4 separate regions of the Homo sapiens genome follow, and all the other regions are linked to region 4. Evidence: promoter capture Hi-C in 16 types of primary human blood cells and fetal thymus (Javierre and others, 2016). All regions are on one chromosome and are shown on one strand. The core of a region is centred on a gene start or on the middle of the fragment in contact, and the rest is flanking DNA. Distances in the headings are between cores, read along the strand shown.

Region 1 (2,700 bases), core at 154-2,653, 96 kb before region 4:
TCCGGAGTCCCCTCTCACAGCAAGGAGGTGGGTGTGCTTTCCCGGGGGTCCTCCCCTCCCGCAAGGGCCTCTTCTCTTTCACACTCTGAGATTCCAAGGGTAGCAGCCCTCTCTGAGGTGCCTACAGCCTGCATGTGGGTGGAGGAACTGGCAGGTGAAGCCAACACCCCCAAACTACCAATGATTCCAAGGGTCTGATGTAAGAACTCAGCCGCCCCTGGAGACGACTCAGTAGTCAGGGTGAGCTGAAAGTGGCAGCTTCCCCTCCAGAGCATACCTCTTCTCACACACAAGCCTGGGAGGTTGGCCGTCTAGGGCTCATGGACCACTGTGTGCATCAGAGACCCAGGCTCCTTCTGTTTATCTGTTGCCCCTTCCTAGCATGTGGCCTCTATCCTAAGGTCTCCTCATGGCCCAGAAAGACTGCTGGGCTTCCAGTCATGATGTCAGGCTGGAAGGGGAAAAATGGAGGAGCAAAGAGGGTCTAGCTCCTCCTTCTCAAGGAGTCTGCCCAGAAGTCCCACACACATTTGCTTACGTCTCGTTGGCCAGAATTCAGTGCACTGACCACACCTAGCTGCAAGAGAGGCTGGAAAATGTAGGGGGTTTTTTTTGTTCTATTTTCTTTTTGTTTTCTTTAAGCTGAGCCCCTTGCTCAGGACTATAGTGAGACAGAAGGGAGAAAGGGGTGTTGGAAGGCAATTAGGCACCTTGGTCCCAGGACATTAGTGGTGACAACAGGTAAATGAGATCAAGGCCTGCCCCTGCTTAAAACTCTCCTGTCCTCTTCACCACAGCCCCACAGCCCTAGTTGATCCAGGCCCTGCCCCACCCCTTCCTGACTCATCTCCTCCTTCCTCTCATTCAACATGTGTTGAGCTCATCCCCCACCCCCCCAGGGCCTTTGCAGTTGCTGCTCCCCCTGCCTATAACACGTTGCCCCAGGATCCTCGTACAACTCACTCATCTCATCATTAGGCCCCGGCTCACATGCCCCTCCCTAGGGGGCCTGCCCCACGCTCCCTACCATAGTCACTCTCAGCCCCATTCACCTGTTTTCCAGAGCACCCAGAACACTCCGGAATTTGCTCCTGCGTCCCGTGTTTATGCTCTACACAAGGGGGAGACTGTCACTTTTGCCCAAAGCTCAGTGGCACAGCCAGAGAGGCTGCCCACATGCAGGTGCAGATGGAGGAGAATCCTTCATTTGTGTTTCCTCCTGCACCATAGTCTGCGGGGGGCCGGTGTGAGAAGCCTCTTGCCAGAGGCCTAGGTTCAGCACAGCCATTCACATTTTTGGTGGGCTTTTTTTTTTTTAATTGAGACAGTCTCACACTCTGTCACCCAGGCTGAAGTGCAGTCGCGTGATCTCGGCTCACTGCAACCTCTGCTGCCCAGGTTCAAGTGATTTTCCTTCCTCAGCCTCCCAAGTAGCTGGGATTACAGGCATGTGCCACCACGCCTGGCTAATTTTTGTATTTTTAGTAGAGACGGGGTTCCACCCCATTGGCCAGGCTGGTCTCAAACTCCTGACCTCAAGTGATCCGCCTGCCTTGGCCTCCCAAAGTGCTGGGATTACAGGTGTGAGCCACCGTGCCCAGCTTAGCCATTGGTGTTCGGAAAGCGCAGTACTTTGTTCCTCCTCACTCAGCCTCACTGTGGGCCTTGGCGGTAGAAGGGTGGTTCCTCCGACTTTCACCATGCCTGTCTGTCCACTTCAGAGGGACAGGGGATTACACACAGGGAGCCCTGCACTGGGGCTTGGTTGCAGATGTTCACACTGCCTCCAGTCTATGCCCGGGACTCAGTAGATACCCTGGATGGCTTGTCACCATCACCCAGACTCCCTCTGCCCTCTCCCCGTGGTTGGGCTCCCTGTGTCTATGGTCATCGCTTTCTTGCTTTGTTCCCTTGTGGACCACAGGCTCAAGTAGCTTCTTAAGAAAGAGGGGAAGAGGTCTGCAGAAGTATTTTTCTCTCTTCTCATTTGAGAAGTAGTTTATCTGGGTATAGAATTGAGTTTGGAGATAATTTTCCTTCAGAATTTTTAAAGCATTACTTCTTGTCTTCTAGTTTTTCTGGAAACTTGAAGTTCTGCAGCAATGTACTTTGGTGTGGGTGTTTTCAACCACTGTGGTGAGCAACTGAATCCTTTTAATCCCAAAACTGGTGTCCCTCATTTCTGAGAAATGTTGTTGAGTTATTTCGGGTATGAGTCCTTTCCCTCTGTTTTCTCTTTCTTGACTCCTGTTATTCATATGTGCAATCTCTTGAATTGATCTTTCAATGTTCTTAACTTTTACCTCCTATTTTGCTTTTCTTTGTCTTCTTGCTCTGTTTTCTAGGAGGTTTCCTCCCTTTTGCCCTCTAAGCCATCCTTTCGTTCTTCTTTTTTAAAAATCATTCATTTGTGCTTTTCATTTCCAAGAACTCTCCTTCAACTCTCTGTTCTCTGACTGTTCATTTTGTTAGCTCTTCGTGGATGTAACATCTCTTATCTCTCTGAGGTTTTTAATACACTTTGTAAAGATTTTCTTCGGAGATAACCTTGCATGGTCCCTTTCTTTACACTGTTATTTTTACTCTTTGTTTTTGTTTGTTTGTTTGTTTGTTTGTTTATTTTGAGATGGAGTCTCGCTCTGTTGCCCACACTGGAGTGCAGTGGCGCAATCTCAGCTCACTGCAGCCTCTGCCTCCGGG
Region 2 (2,700 bases), core at 200-2,699, 110 kb after region 4:
ATCTTGGCACACCACAACCTCCGCCTCCTGGGTTCAAGTGATTCTCCTGCCTCAGCCTCCTGAGTAGCTGGGATTACAGGCATGCACCACCATGCCTGGCTAATTTTTTTTTTTGTATTTTTAGTAGAGACGGAGTTTCTCCACATTGGTAAGGCTAGTCTCGAACTCCTGACCTCAGGTGATCCGCCCACCTCAGCCTCCCAAAGTGCTGGGATTACAGGCGTGAGCCACCATGCCCAGCCTAGCTGGGATTTTGAAAAGGATTTGAAATCTGTAGATCAACTTGGTGAATACTGCCATCTTCACAACATTAAGTATTCTAAACCATGAACAGGAAATACCATTCCATTTATTTAGGTCTTATTTAATTTCTTTCAACAATGTTTTATAATTCTCAGAGAAGTTTTTTATTTCTTTTGTCAAACATATTCCTAAGTATTTTATTATTTTTGATAGTATATTAAATGTAACTGTTTTCTTAAATCCACTTTCAGATTGTTCACTGCTAGTGTACAAAAATACAGTTCATTTTCTATATTGACCTTGTATCCTGCAAACTTGCTAAACTCGTTTATTAGTTCTAAAGGCTTGTTTTATTTCAGTGGATTCTCTAGGATTTTCTATATAAAAGATGTCATCTGATAGAGTAGTTTACTTCTTCGTTTCCAACCTGAATGGCTTTTATTTCATCTCTTTCCTAACTGTCCTGGCTAGAACCTCCTTTACCACGTTGAATGGAAGTGGCAAGAATGAACATCCTTGTCTTGTTTCTGATTTTGGGGAAAGCTTTCAGTCTTTCACCATTAAGTATGATATTAGCTGTGAGTTTTTCATAGACGCCCTCTATCAGGCTGAGGAAGTTCCTGTCTATTCCTAGTTTGCTGAGTATTTTATTGTCATGAAGGAGTATTGAATTCTCTCAAATGCTTTTTCTGTGTCCATTTAGATATCGTGTGGTTTTTGTCCTTTGTTCTATGATACAGTATATTAACTGATTTTCTAATGTTAAACCAACCTTTCAGACTTTTTTGATGAGAAAAAAGTAGTACTTGAGAGAACTTCTACACTCTTCCACCACCAAAAGTATTAGTCTATCTGCATCTGTACCCATATCCTCTGCCTTCCCTCCTATTGCACAGAATGAATTGCCCACACGGCTATCTAAGGCTCACTTTTCCATTTGATCCTGAATCTGAACGCTTCTTGCTTAATTAAGGATTCCCCTCCTGCCATCATCTCTCCTGAAACATCAATTTTTCCCTCTTTTTTTAGATCATTCCATCAGCATACAAATATGCAGTAATATTTCCCATAAGGTTATTTCTAGACTTGTATATCCTGCTGTCTGCTCAACATCTTCATTTGGTTATTCACTGGGCATCTTAAAATTATGTACAAAACCAAATTCTTAATTTCTTCCTCCAAACCTGTTCCTGCCCCAGTGTTCCCGCTCTCAAACAACGAAGTCATCATTAACCCAGTTGCTTGGGGCAAAACCTTGATTTCACCTTAGTCTTTCTTGTTCTCTCACACTCCAATAAATCCTGTAGGTTCAACCTTCAAAACATTCCCAAATCTGACAACTTCTTTACCTCACAGCTACCTCTATGGTCAAAGCAAACATCAGATCTTCCCTGGAATAATGCAACAGCCACTCCCCTCCACCCCTGCTTAGTCTCCTCAATTCCATTTTTGCCCCATCCCTCTATAGATTATTTTCCACATTGTAGCCAGAGTTAGATTACATCATTCCCTCGTTCTCAACCCCCCTATGGCTTTTCATCATATTTGGAATGAAGTACAAAAACCTCACCTCACATGATCTGACCACTGTTTATTTCTTCTCTCCTTTCCCCCTGTCGCTCAATCTAATTCAGTCATTGTGTCTTTCCTGCAGCTCTAAGAAACATGCCAAACACACTCTTGCTTTAGGGCCTTTGTATTTATTCCCTGACCTAGAATGACTCTATTCAAATATCACCTCAAGAAGTCTCCCTTGATCTTTCTCTTTAATCGAGCCCCCTTTTTCCTCTGTTCTAGTCACTCTCCATCCCCTCTTCTTGCCTTGTTTTTCTTAAATTGTATTTATTATCTGTTTCCCTCACAAAAAGGTAAGCTTTATAAGAACACTGACTTGTGTTTAGTACTGTACCCTCAGCTTGCAGAACAGTATCTGCGTTATAGTTGCTGCTAAATAAATACCAACTGGGTTGTCAGTAAGGAAGTACAAGCAATAGTTAAACAACACAGTGATCTTCTGAATTACTCAGAGGGGCTTTCTAAGTTGAGTACCCTACAATTGGCTTAGCCAGAAACCTGAGTTAAGATTGCCTTCTCTCATCTTGACCAGTCACAAGGTTTGCTTCTCTCACCAAAAGATTCTCAAGTCCGTCCACTTCTACTAACACTGCTTTATCATCTGTCTCTCTGCTTTTAGTCTCCTCCAAATTATGGTTAATATTTCAGAATACTGTATTTTCTTTCAGTCTTTATTTTGAATCCTTATATAATACTTCGTCTTGTTTTTGAACATTGGGTTAAGTTGTTCATTGTTATAAATAATGCTTTGATAAACCATCTTTGTCTATACAATTTCATCTAAATTCTGATGACGTTTTTAGAGTAGATTTTCAAACTTTAATTCATGGGTCAGAAGATATGAATTACTTTTAAGTTCTACGTATATATTATCAAATTGCT
Region 3 (2,700 bases), core at 28-2,527, 93 kb after region 4:
CTTGGAGACTGATGTCTTCATAGGATTTGCTTTAGGTTAGGTAAACCCAGAGGCAGACCTAATTTGAATGCAAATAACTTTATTTGGGAAGTGATCCAGGACAGGGCCAGAATCAGGGCAATGCAAATGATATGCCTAGGGTACAGAATGTAAAGAGACCCTCTCAGGTTCATACGGGTGCCAACCTTGCACTTAGATGAACCCAAGAATAAAGGCTCATCACCCTAGTCCCAGTCCTGATCAGGAAAATACAGAAGAGGAGCTGGAAGCCAGGTAGGAAGAGAAAGAAGCCAAGGAAGTGTACGTTAATTGTTACTGGGAGCTTAGAGAGGTTCACTCCCACAGGGAACCCTGAGAAATAGGTAGAATGTGCCTTAGAGTTGTCCCTCACTGAGTGAGGAAGCTGGGGTATCTATCCTCCCACTTCCACTGGCTGAGAGCTGTCCCAGGGGCACTAACTCCCTGGTACTCTCAGCTTGTGCCAACACAAACCAAGAGAAGTCCTCAGGCAGAGTCTCAGGTACTTGCAACAGGACTCTGTGGGTATACAGCAGAATGGCGAATGCCTGGGGGAAATGGGCGAGGCACAACCTCTGCTGGGGCTGCTGTAAGGACTAAATGAAAAAGCACAACTACAGCGCCTAACAAAGAGAAGTCCCCCTCTATCTCTTCCAATTTACGGCAATAGCTTGTGAAGTTTATGGAGCTTCCCAGCTCTCCGTGAGTTGGCAGCATCAGCAGAACAGCTATTTCTCATCTTTCAGAAGTAAAAGAAATCCAGGGGCCCTAGGAGAACTCTAGATGCCTGGGACCCAAGTTTCCTGTGGAAGCCTGATGGTTGATGGAGCCCGAGTAGTCCCTCCTGAGTACACATTCCTCTGAAAACTATCTCCTCTTGCATCTGCACCCGTCCCCCATCCCTCCACCCCTCAGTGCAACATCATTTGTGACACATAGACTAGCATCACATTAATAACTGCTGCCACTAACTCATTCTTCTATGTGATGACATTGTGCTGGATCAAAGCTTTATCCACATTATGGTAATCCTTAGAACCCTGTTAGTATGATCTTTTCCCATTTTATGGACAAGAAAGCCAGGTCTCAGAGAGGTTAACTTTTATCAGAAGCAGGGTGCAGATGTAGGCTGATCTCACACATTTTATACTTTGTCTCTTCACTCTTTCACTAATGCTCCTCTCACAGGATCACAGCATGGGGAGAATAAGACTGTGGGCAAACAAGACGGTTGTGAGGAGGCGATGGGGGAAGTGGGTAGCTGTTCTTCCCTTGACTCCCCATTAGCTAATAATTAAGCCTGTGGTTCCTGGTCTGGCTGATCCATACCCTCCTGCTGCTGACTCATGTTTTAGGGAAACTGCTCAATTTTAAGCTAAATAATTCACTTTCCAGAAGTACCCTTTCCCTTTTCTTATCTTCAGGCAAACAGATACACACACTGTCCCCTGTTTATACAGCGCTACCTCCAATAAATTGCCATTTAATGAAAGAGAAAACAAGCGAGAGTTAAGCTTATGGGACATAACTGATAAACTACTTTTCACTAGAAGAAAAACAGGAAAATAATCAATACTGGAGTCAAAATATAGCATTTTCTTCAGGAATGAAGAGTAGGGGCACTGTGGTTCCACTGCCATGGACAAAAAGTGGCTTATTTGTTACTCTAAGCCTTTGCTTCCTCATCTGGAAATTGAGATGATAATACCTATACCCCATAGGGTTGCTATGAGGATTAAATGAAGGCCACATACATTGCCTGGACCGTAGTAGTTGCTCAAAAAATAACAGCTATTTCTTATGTGCTGCTAGCCACTAGGTCAGTGCCATCCAACAGCAAGACATTATCTATGGAAGGAAAAGACAGTGAGACTGCCATCTTGCCTTCTTCTAACTCAAAAGGTTGTGTGCAAAGGGACCTAGGCAGGAACAAGGCCTTAATGTTTGTGCTGTCTTCCATCCCAGCTATCTGCTAACTCCCCAGTCTAACACATACCTCGTTTTCATGTTAAAAGAAAAGATAACTTTGGACAAAATCAGAAGTTAGGAGAGTCTTGAGTGTGCCTGTTTATCCTGTCCCAAGATCCTTTCCTGGTCAACAGCCACCTCCCCCAGTTTTTCATTACAACTTCAAATCAGTTTTGGCCAAAACTAGCATTCTTCACATCCTTGTTTGGTCATCTCCTTCAGGTAGCTCCTTCTGCCAATTGACATCCTCTCATCTTCAGAGTCTGCACATGGCATGCACCGAGAACAGACCACATCTCTGTTCTGCACTGGAAGCTCCTAGGCAACACGGTGAGGAATGTGCGCTATGTTAGTAATGTTACCAAAACAGAAGCCATGTCCTGTTGCTGCTAACCTTTGGCATCAAGAGACCCAATCTTGATTTGAACAGATGAATATGCCTGGCATCCCCACTGGTTAATCTATTTAGAAAAAATAATTGCATAGGCATCTAATAACAGAGTGTTCACTTGCACATTCCTGGGAAGAATGGCAGGACACATCCTTCAAATGTTCTATGCTCAGGCTGAGAATTCCACTGTGTGAGTACAAGATGAAGGGACAGGTCACTGAATGGTAGGGATAGCAGAATAGGTAGTGGGAGTCAATGCCCCTGGCACCTCCCAGAATTATGTCAGAAACAGTCAAGGGAGTAACCAATGTTCGGAATTGTGC
Region 4 (2,700 bases), core at 131-2,630:
CCCTGGCGATGGAGCCCAGCGTCTGTATGGTTGCCTCTGGAGCTTTAGCTGGTGTTTTTTATAGTAGACTTAAGAGGAAAGCAAAACATTTTTCATAACCCTTCTCTATCAAAAGTGGGAAACAAAAGACAGACCGAGAGAGGGCCTCGTGTCTCAAGAAATATAGGAGAGCTCATATCTCTTTGTGGAAGCAAGACCATCCCTTACATCGCCTAGCCTGCAGCGCCAATTTATATTATCGACCGGCCCCGTAGGCGTTTGAGTTTGCGACCCTGCCCTCACCCTGCTCATTCCCCTCCCGACCCAGACTAGGACCCTCTCTTTTTCCGATCACTCCCCCCAGGCACACCGCACGCGGCTGTCATTTCCTTTCTCCTTCAAGGCAGCCCTCTGTTTATTTTAACCCGATTAGGGAATGGGGGTGGGGCACAGGAGACTCCAGCAGCGGTCACTGCTGGAGGCTCCAGGAGACGACGTGACTTGACCAAGGTCACAGAGCTGGAAGGTGAAGTCGCCTGGACCCTACCCCCGGTCTCCCTAGCTGCCAAAGCCCAGCTCGTTCCTTTACACCCACGTCGCGGGCGCCGTGCGCTCTCGGGGCTCAAACACCGCGCGCCCAGTCGGGTGTGCTGCGCCTGAAGGTTGTTTTCCTTCGGCGAACGGCGCCGAGGGGTTAGGGAAACCTTGGGTCATGGTGTGAGGCGCGCCCCTGGAATCCACCAGCCTGCGAGGCTGGGACTGCGGGTGTCCCCGAGTCTGGCCTGCCAGCTCTGGTGGCCAGGGCACCTCTGCGCGCGGGCCAGGGCCCCGGGGCTCTCCCGCAGTCCCCTAACCAAGCCGCGGGCTGGCAGCGTACCGCGGCGCCCGGACGACCCCGGAGCGCGGCCGCGAGGAAAGGGCGGGGGAGAGGACTGCAGCGGAACCTGCCCGGGGCACCCCTGCCCTGGGCGGCTCTCCGCAGGCTGGCGCCGCGCCGGGGTCGCCGCAGCCCCGGGCCCCTCCCGGGCCACCTGTGCGCAGACTGGCGGGCCCGCGAGAGCCCGGATCCGGAGCACCGATCCACTCCGGGTTTCAGACTCCTGCCCCTGTCCCTGGAGACCCCGCGGGGCGGTGGGAGGCCTCCACGCCCACCACCCCAAGCCCCTCCCTGGGGGAGCCTCAGGCATCGCCCAGAGGGATTCCCGGTGCTGGGGGTGGCCCGCGCGCGCTGCGCGGGGCGGCCCGGCCCCTCCTTCCTTCCCCCGCCCCTCCCAGCCGCCGCCCCGCTCCGTCGCTCCAGTCCGGGTTTTGCGGCGCCCACCGGCCCGCTCTCCGGCTGCGGGCTCCGCGGCGCGGCTGGCTCGGTGCGCGGCGCGGCTGGCGCTGCGCTCCGCCCCGGCTGCATTGCTGCGCTCCCGTGCCCAAGGGAGCCACGCGCCGCGTGCGCCCGGCAGCCGGCCGCCCGGAGGCAGCGCAGTCCGCTGGCATGGGCCCCGGGGGCGCCCCGAGCTGGGGCTCCGGGCTGAGGCGCTAAAGCCGCCCTCCCGCCCGCGGGGCCCCGCGCCCGGCCCGCCCGCCTGCCCGCCCGCGGCCATGGCCGTCCGGCCCGGCCTGTGGCCAGCGCTCCTGGGCATAGTCCTCGCCGCTTGGCTCCGCGGCTCGGGTGAGTCACGCCGCGCGCGCTCTGGGGAGGCTTGCGGGGGACCGTGCGCGCGAACGCTCGCTGCTCTGGGGGTCCCTGACCAGCGCTGCCAGACCCGGCTGGGAGCCCCCCGAGGCCAAACTTTGCGAGGCGGGACGCGGGGGGCTCTTCTTGCTGCTGCGCAGCTTCCCCGCGCGCTCTCCCGGAAGCCTGGGTTCTGCCAAGTCCAGGAGCAGCTGTCAGCCCGCGGGGCTGGCGAGTGTAGACACCCCACGCCTCCGGGTGGGGGAAGTTTGCTGGTTGCCTGGGCCCGGAGCAGGGCTGGGGGTTTGGATCAACCCCAGGGAGCCTGACTTTGAGGATTCGAAGATTAGAGGGTTTTGAGCCTATCCCAGTGCCCAGGAAATGGGGGGTGCGGGGAACGTTTAAGATACCTCTTCCCGGTAGCATCTGCCCTAAACAGCCACTCACAATCTCCCAGCTTGGCACCTGGCCTCTGCCCACGTCCAGAACACAGTGTCCTCCTCTGTCCCCGCCACACACGCTCTCACACGCACACACTCAGGCGTGGAGGCGCATACACCAGCCCCCAGTCCTTGCAGCCAGCACAGTCAAAGCGCCGCGGTCCCGGTGGCCGGGGCTGTGGCTCCTGGCCTCCCTGGTGCGGGGGGCCAGAGTTGTGTGTGGTTGGTCCGCCAGTTTCCCCTTCTTCCTTAAACTCCATAGCCTTTCTTGGCCCCTGCATGCCCCATTGGTCACCCTAACCCACTGCTAACTCAGCCCTCAGCCCACCTCATTCCCTTGGGAGGGGCTTGGGGGGAGGAAGTTCCCCTGCATCCTTTGTCTGCTGTCCCTGAGCCTTCACCTAGGCTGAGCTGTGGGGGCCTCCTGATCTCTGCCCCCCATGCACTTAGCTGAGTTGAGCGTATGTGTCTGTGGTGGTGGGGGGTGGGTGCCATTTGTGTGGTCAAGGGGGCTTGAGGCTTACCCTGGCAATTCTCGATTCTTGCTGCCCCTAGAACCTGGGCGGTTACTCCCCAGCCTGGCCAGGCCGCTGCTTATAACAGGGGTGTTGGAAG

Evidence for each region. The method cuts DNA at HindIII sites, captures the fragments that hold promoters and counts their contacts. A CHiCAGO score of 5 or more calls a contact.
Region 1: a fragment that was not itself captured here is called in contact with the fragment with the promoter of UNC5A in region 4 in 1 of 17 cell types (endothelial precursors); the score reaches 5.4 in endothelial precursors.
Region 2: a contact is called between a fragment that was not itself captured here and the fragment with the promoter of UNC5A in region 4, in 1 of 17 cell types (endothelial precursors). The highest score is 6.3, in endothelial precursors.
Region 3: a fragment that was not itself captured here is called in contact with the fragment with the promoter of UNC5A in region 4 in 1 of 17 cell types (endothelial precursors); the score reaches 6.7 in endothelial precursors.

Annotation. Positions count from the first base shown.
Region 1 is chr5:176,713,417-176,716,116 of GRCh38, forward strand. No RefSeq gene overlaps it. Among named protein-coding and RNA genes, the nearest start is that of LINC01574, 28 kb to the right of the region's middle. The HindIII fragment of the contact is 3,923 bases long and covers 1-2,700 here.
Region 2 is chr5:176,920,086-176,922,785 of GRCh38, forward strand. The region is part of intron 10 of UIMC1 (ubiquitin interaction motif containing 1); the gene reads right to left. Among named protein-coding and RNA genes, the nearest start is that of HK3, 22 kb to the left of the region's middle. The HindIII fragment of the contact is 1,330 bases long and covers 785-2,114 here.
Region 3 is chr5:176,902,164-176,904,863 of GRCh38, forward strand. No RefSeq gene overlaps it. Among named protein-coding and RNA genes, the nearest start is that of HK3, 4.2 kb to the left of the region's middle. The HindIII fragment of the contact is 505 bases long and covers 1,026-1,530 here.
Region 4 is chr5:176,809,179-176,811,878 of GRCh38, forward strand. It overlaps UNC5A (unc-5 netrin receptor A), which reads left to right and starts at 1,381. Exons shown (of 15, transcript NM_133369.3): 1 at 1,381-1,642. The coding sequence starts at 1,573. The HindIII fragment of the contact is 10,823 bases long and covers 1-2,700 here.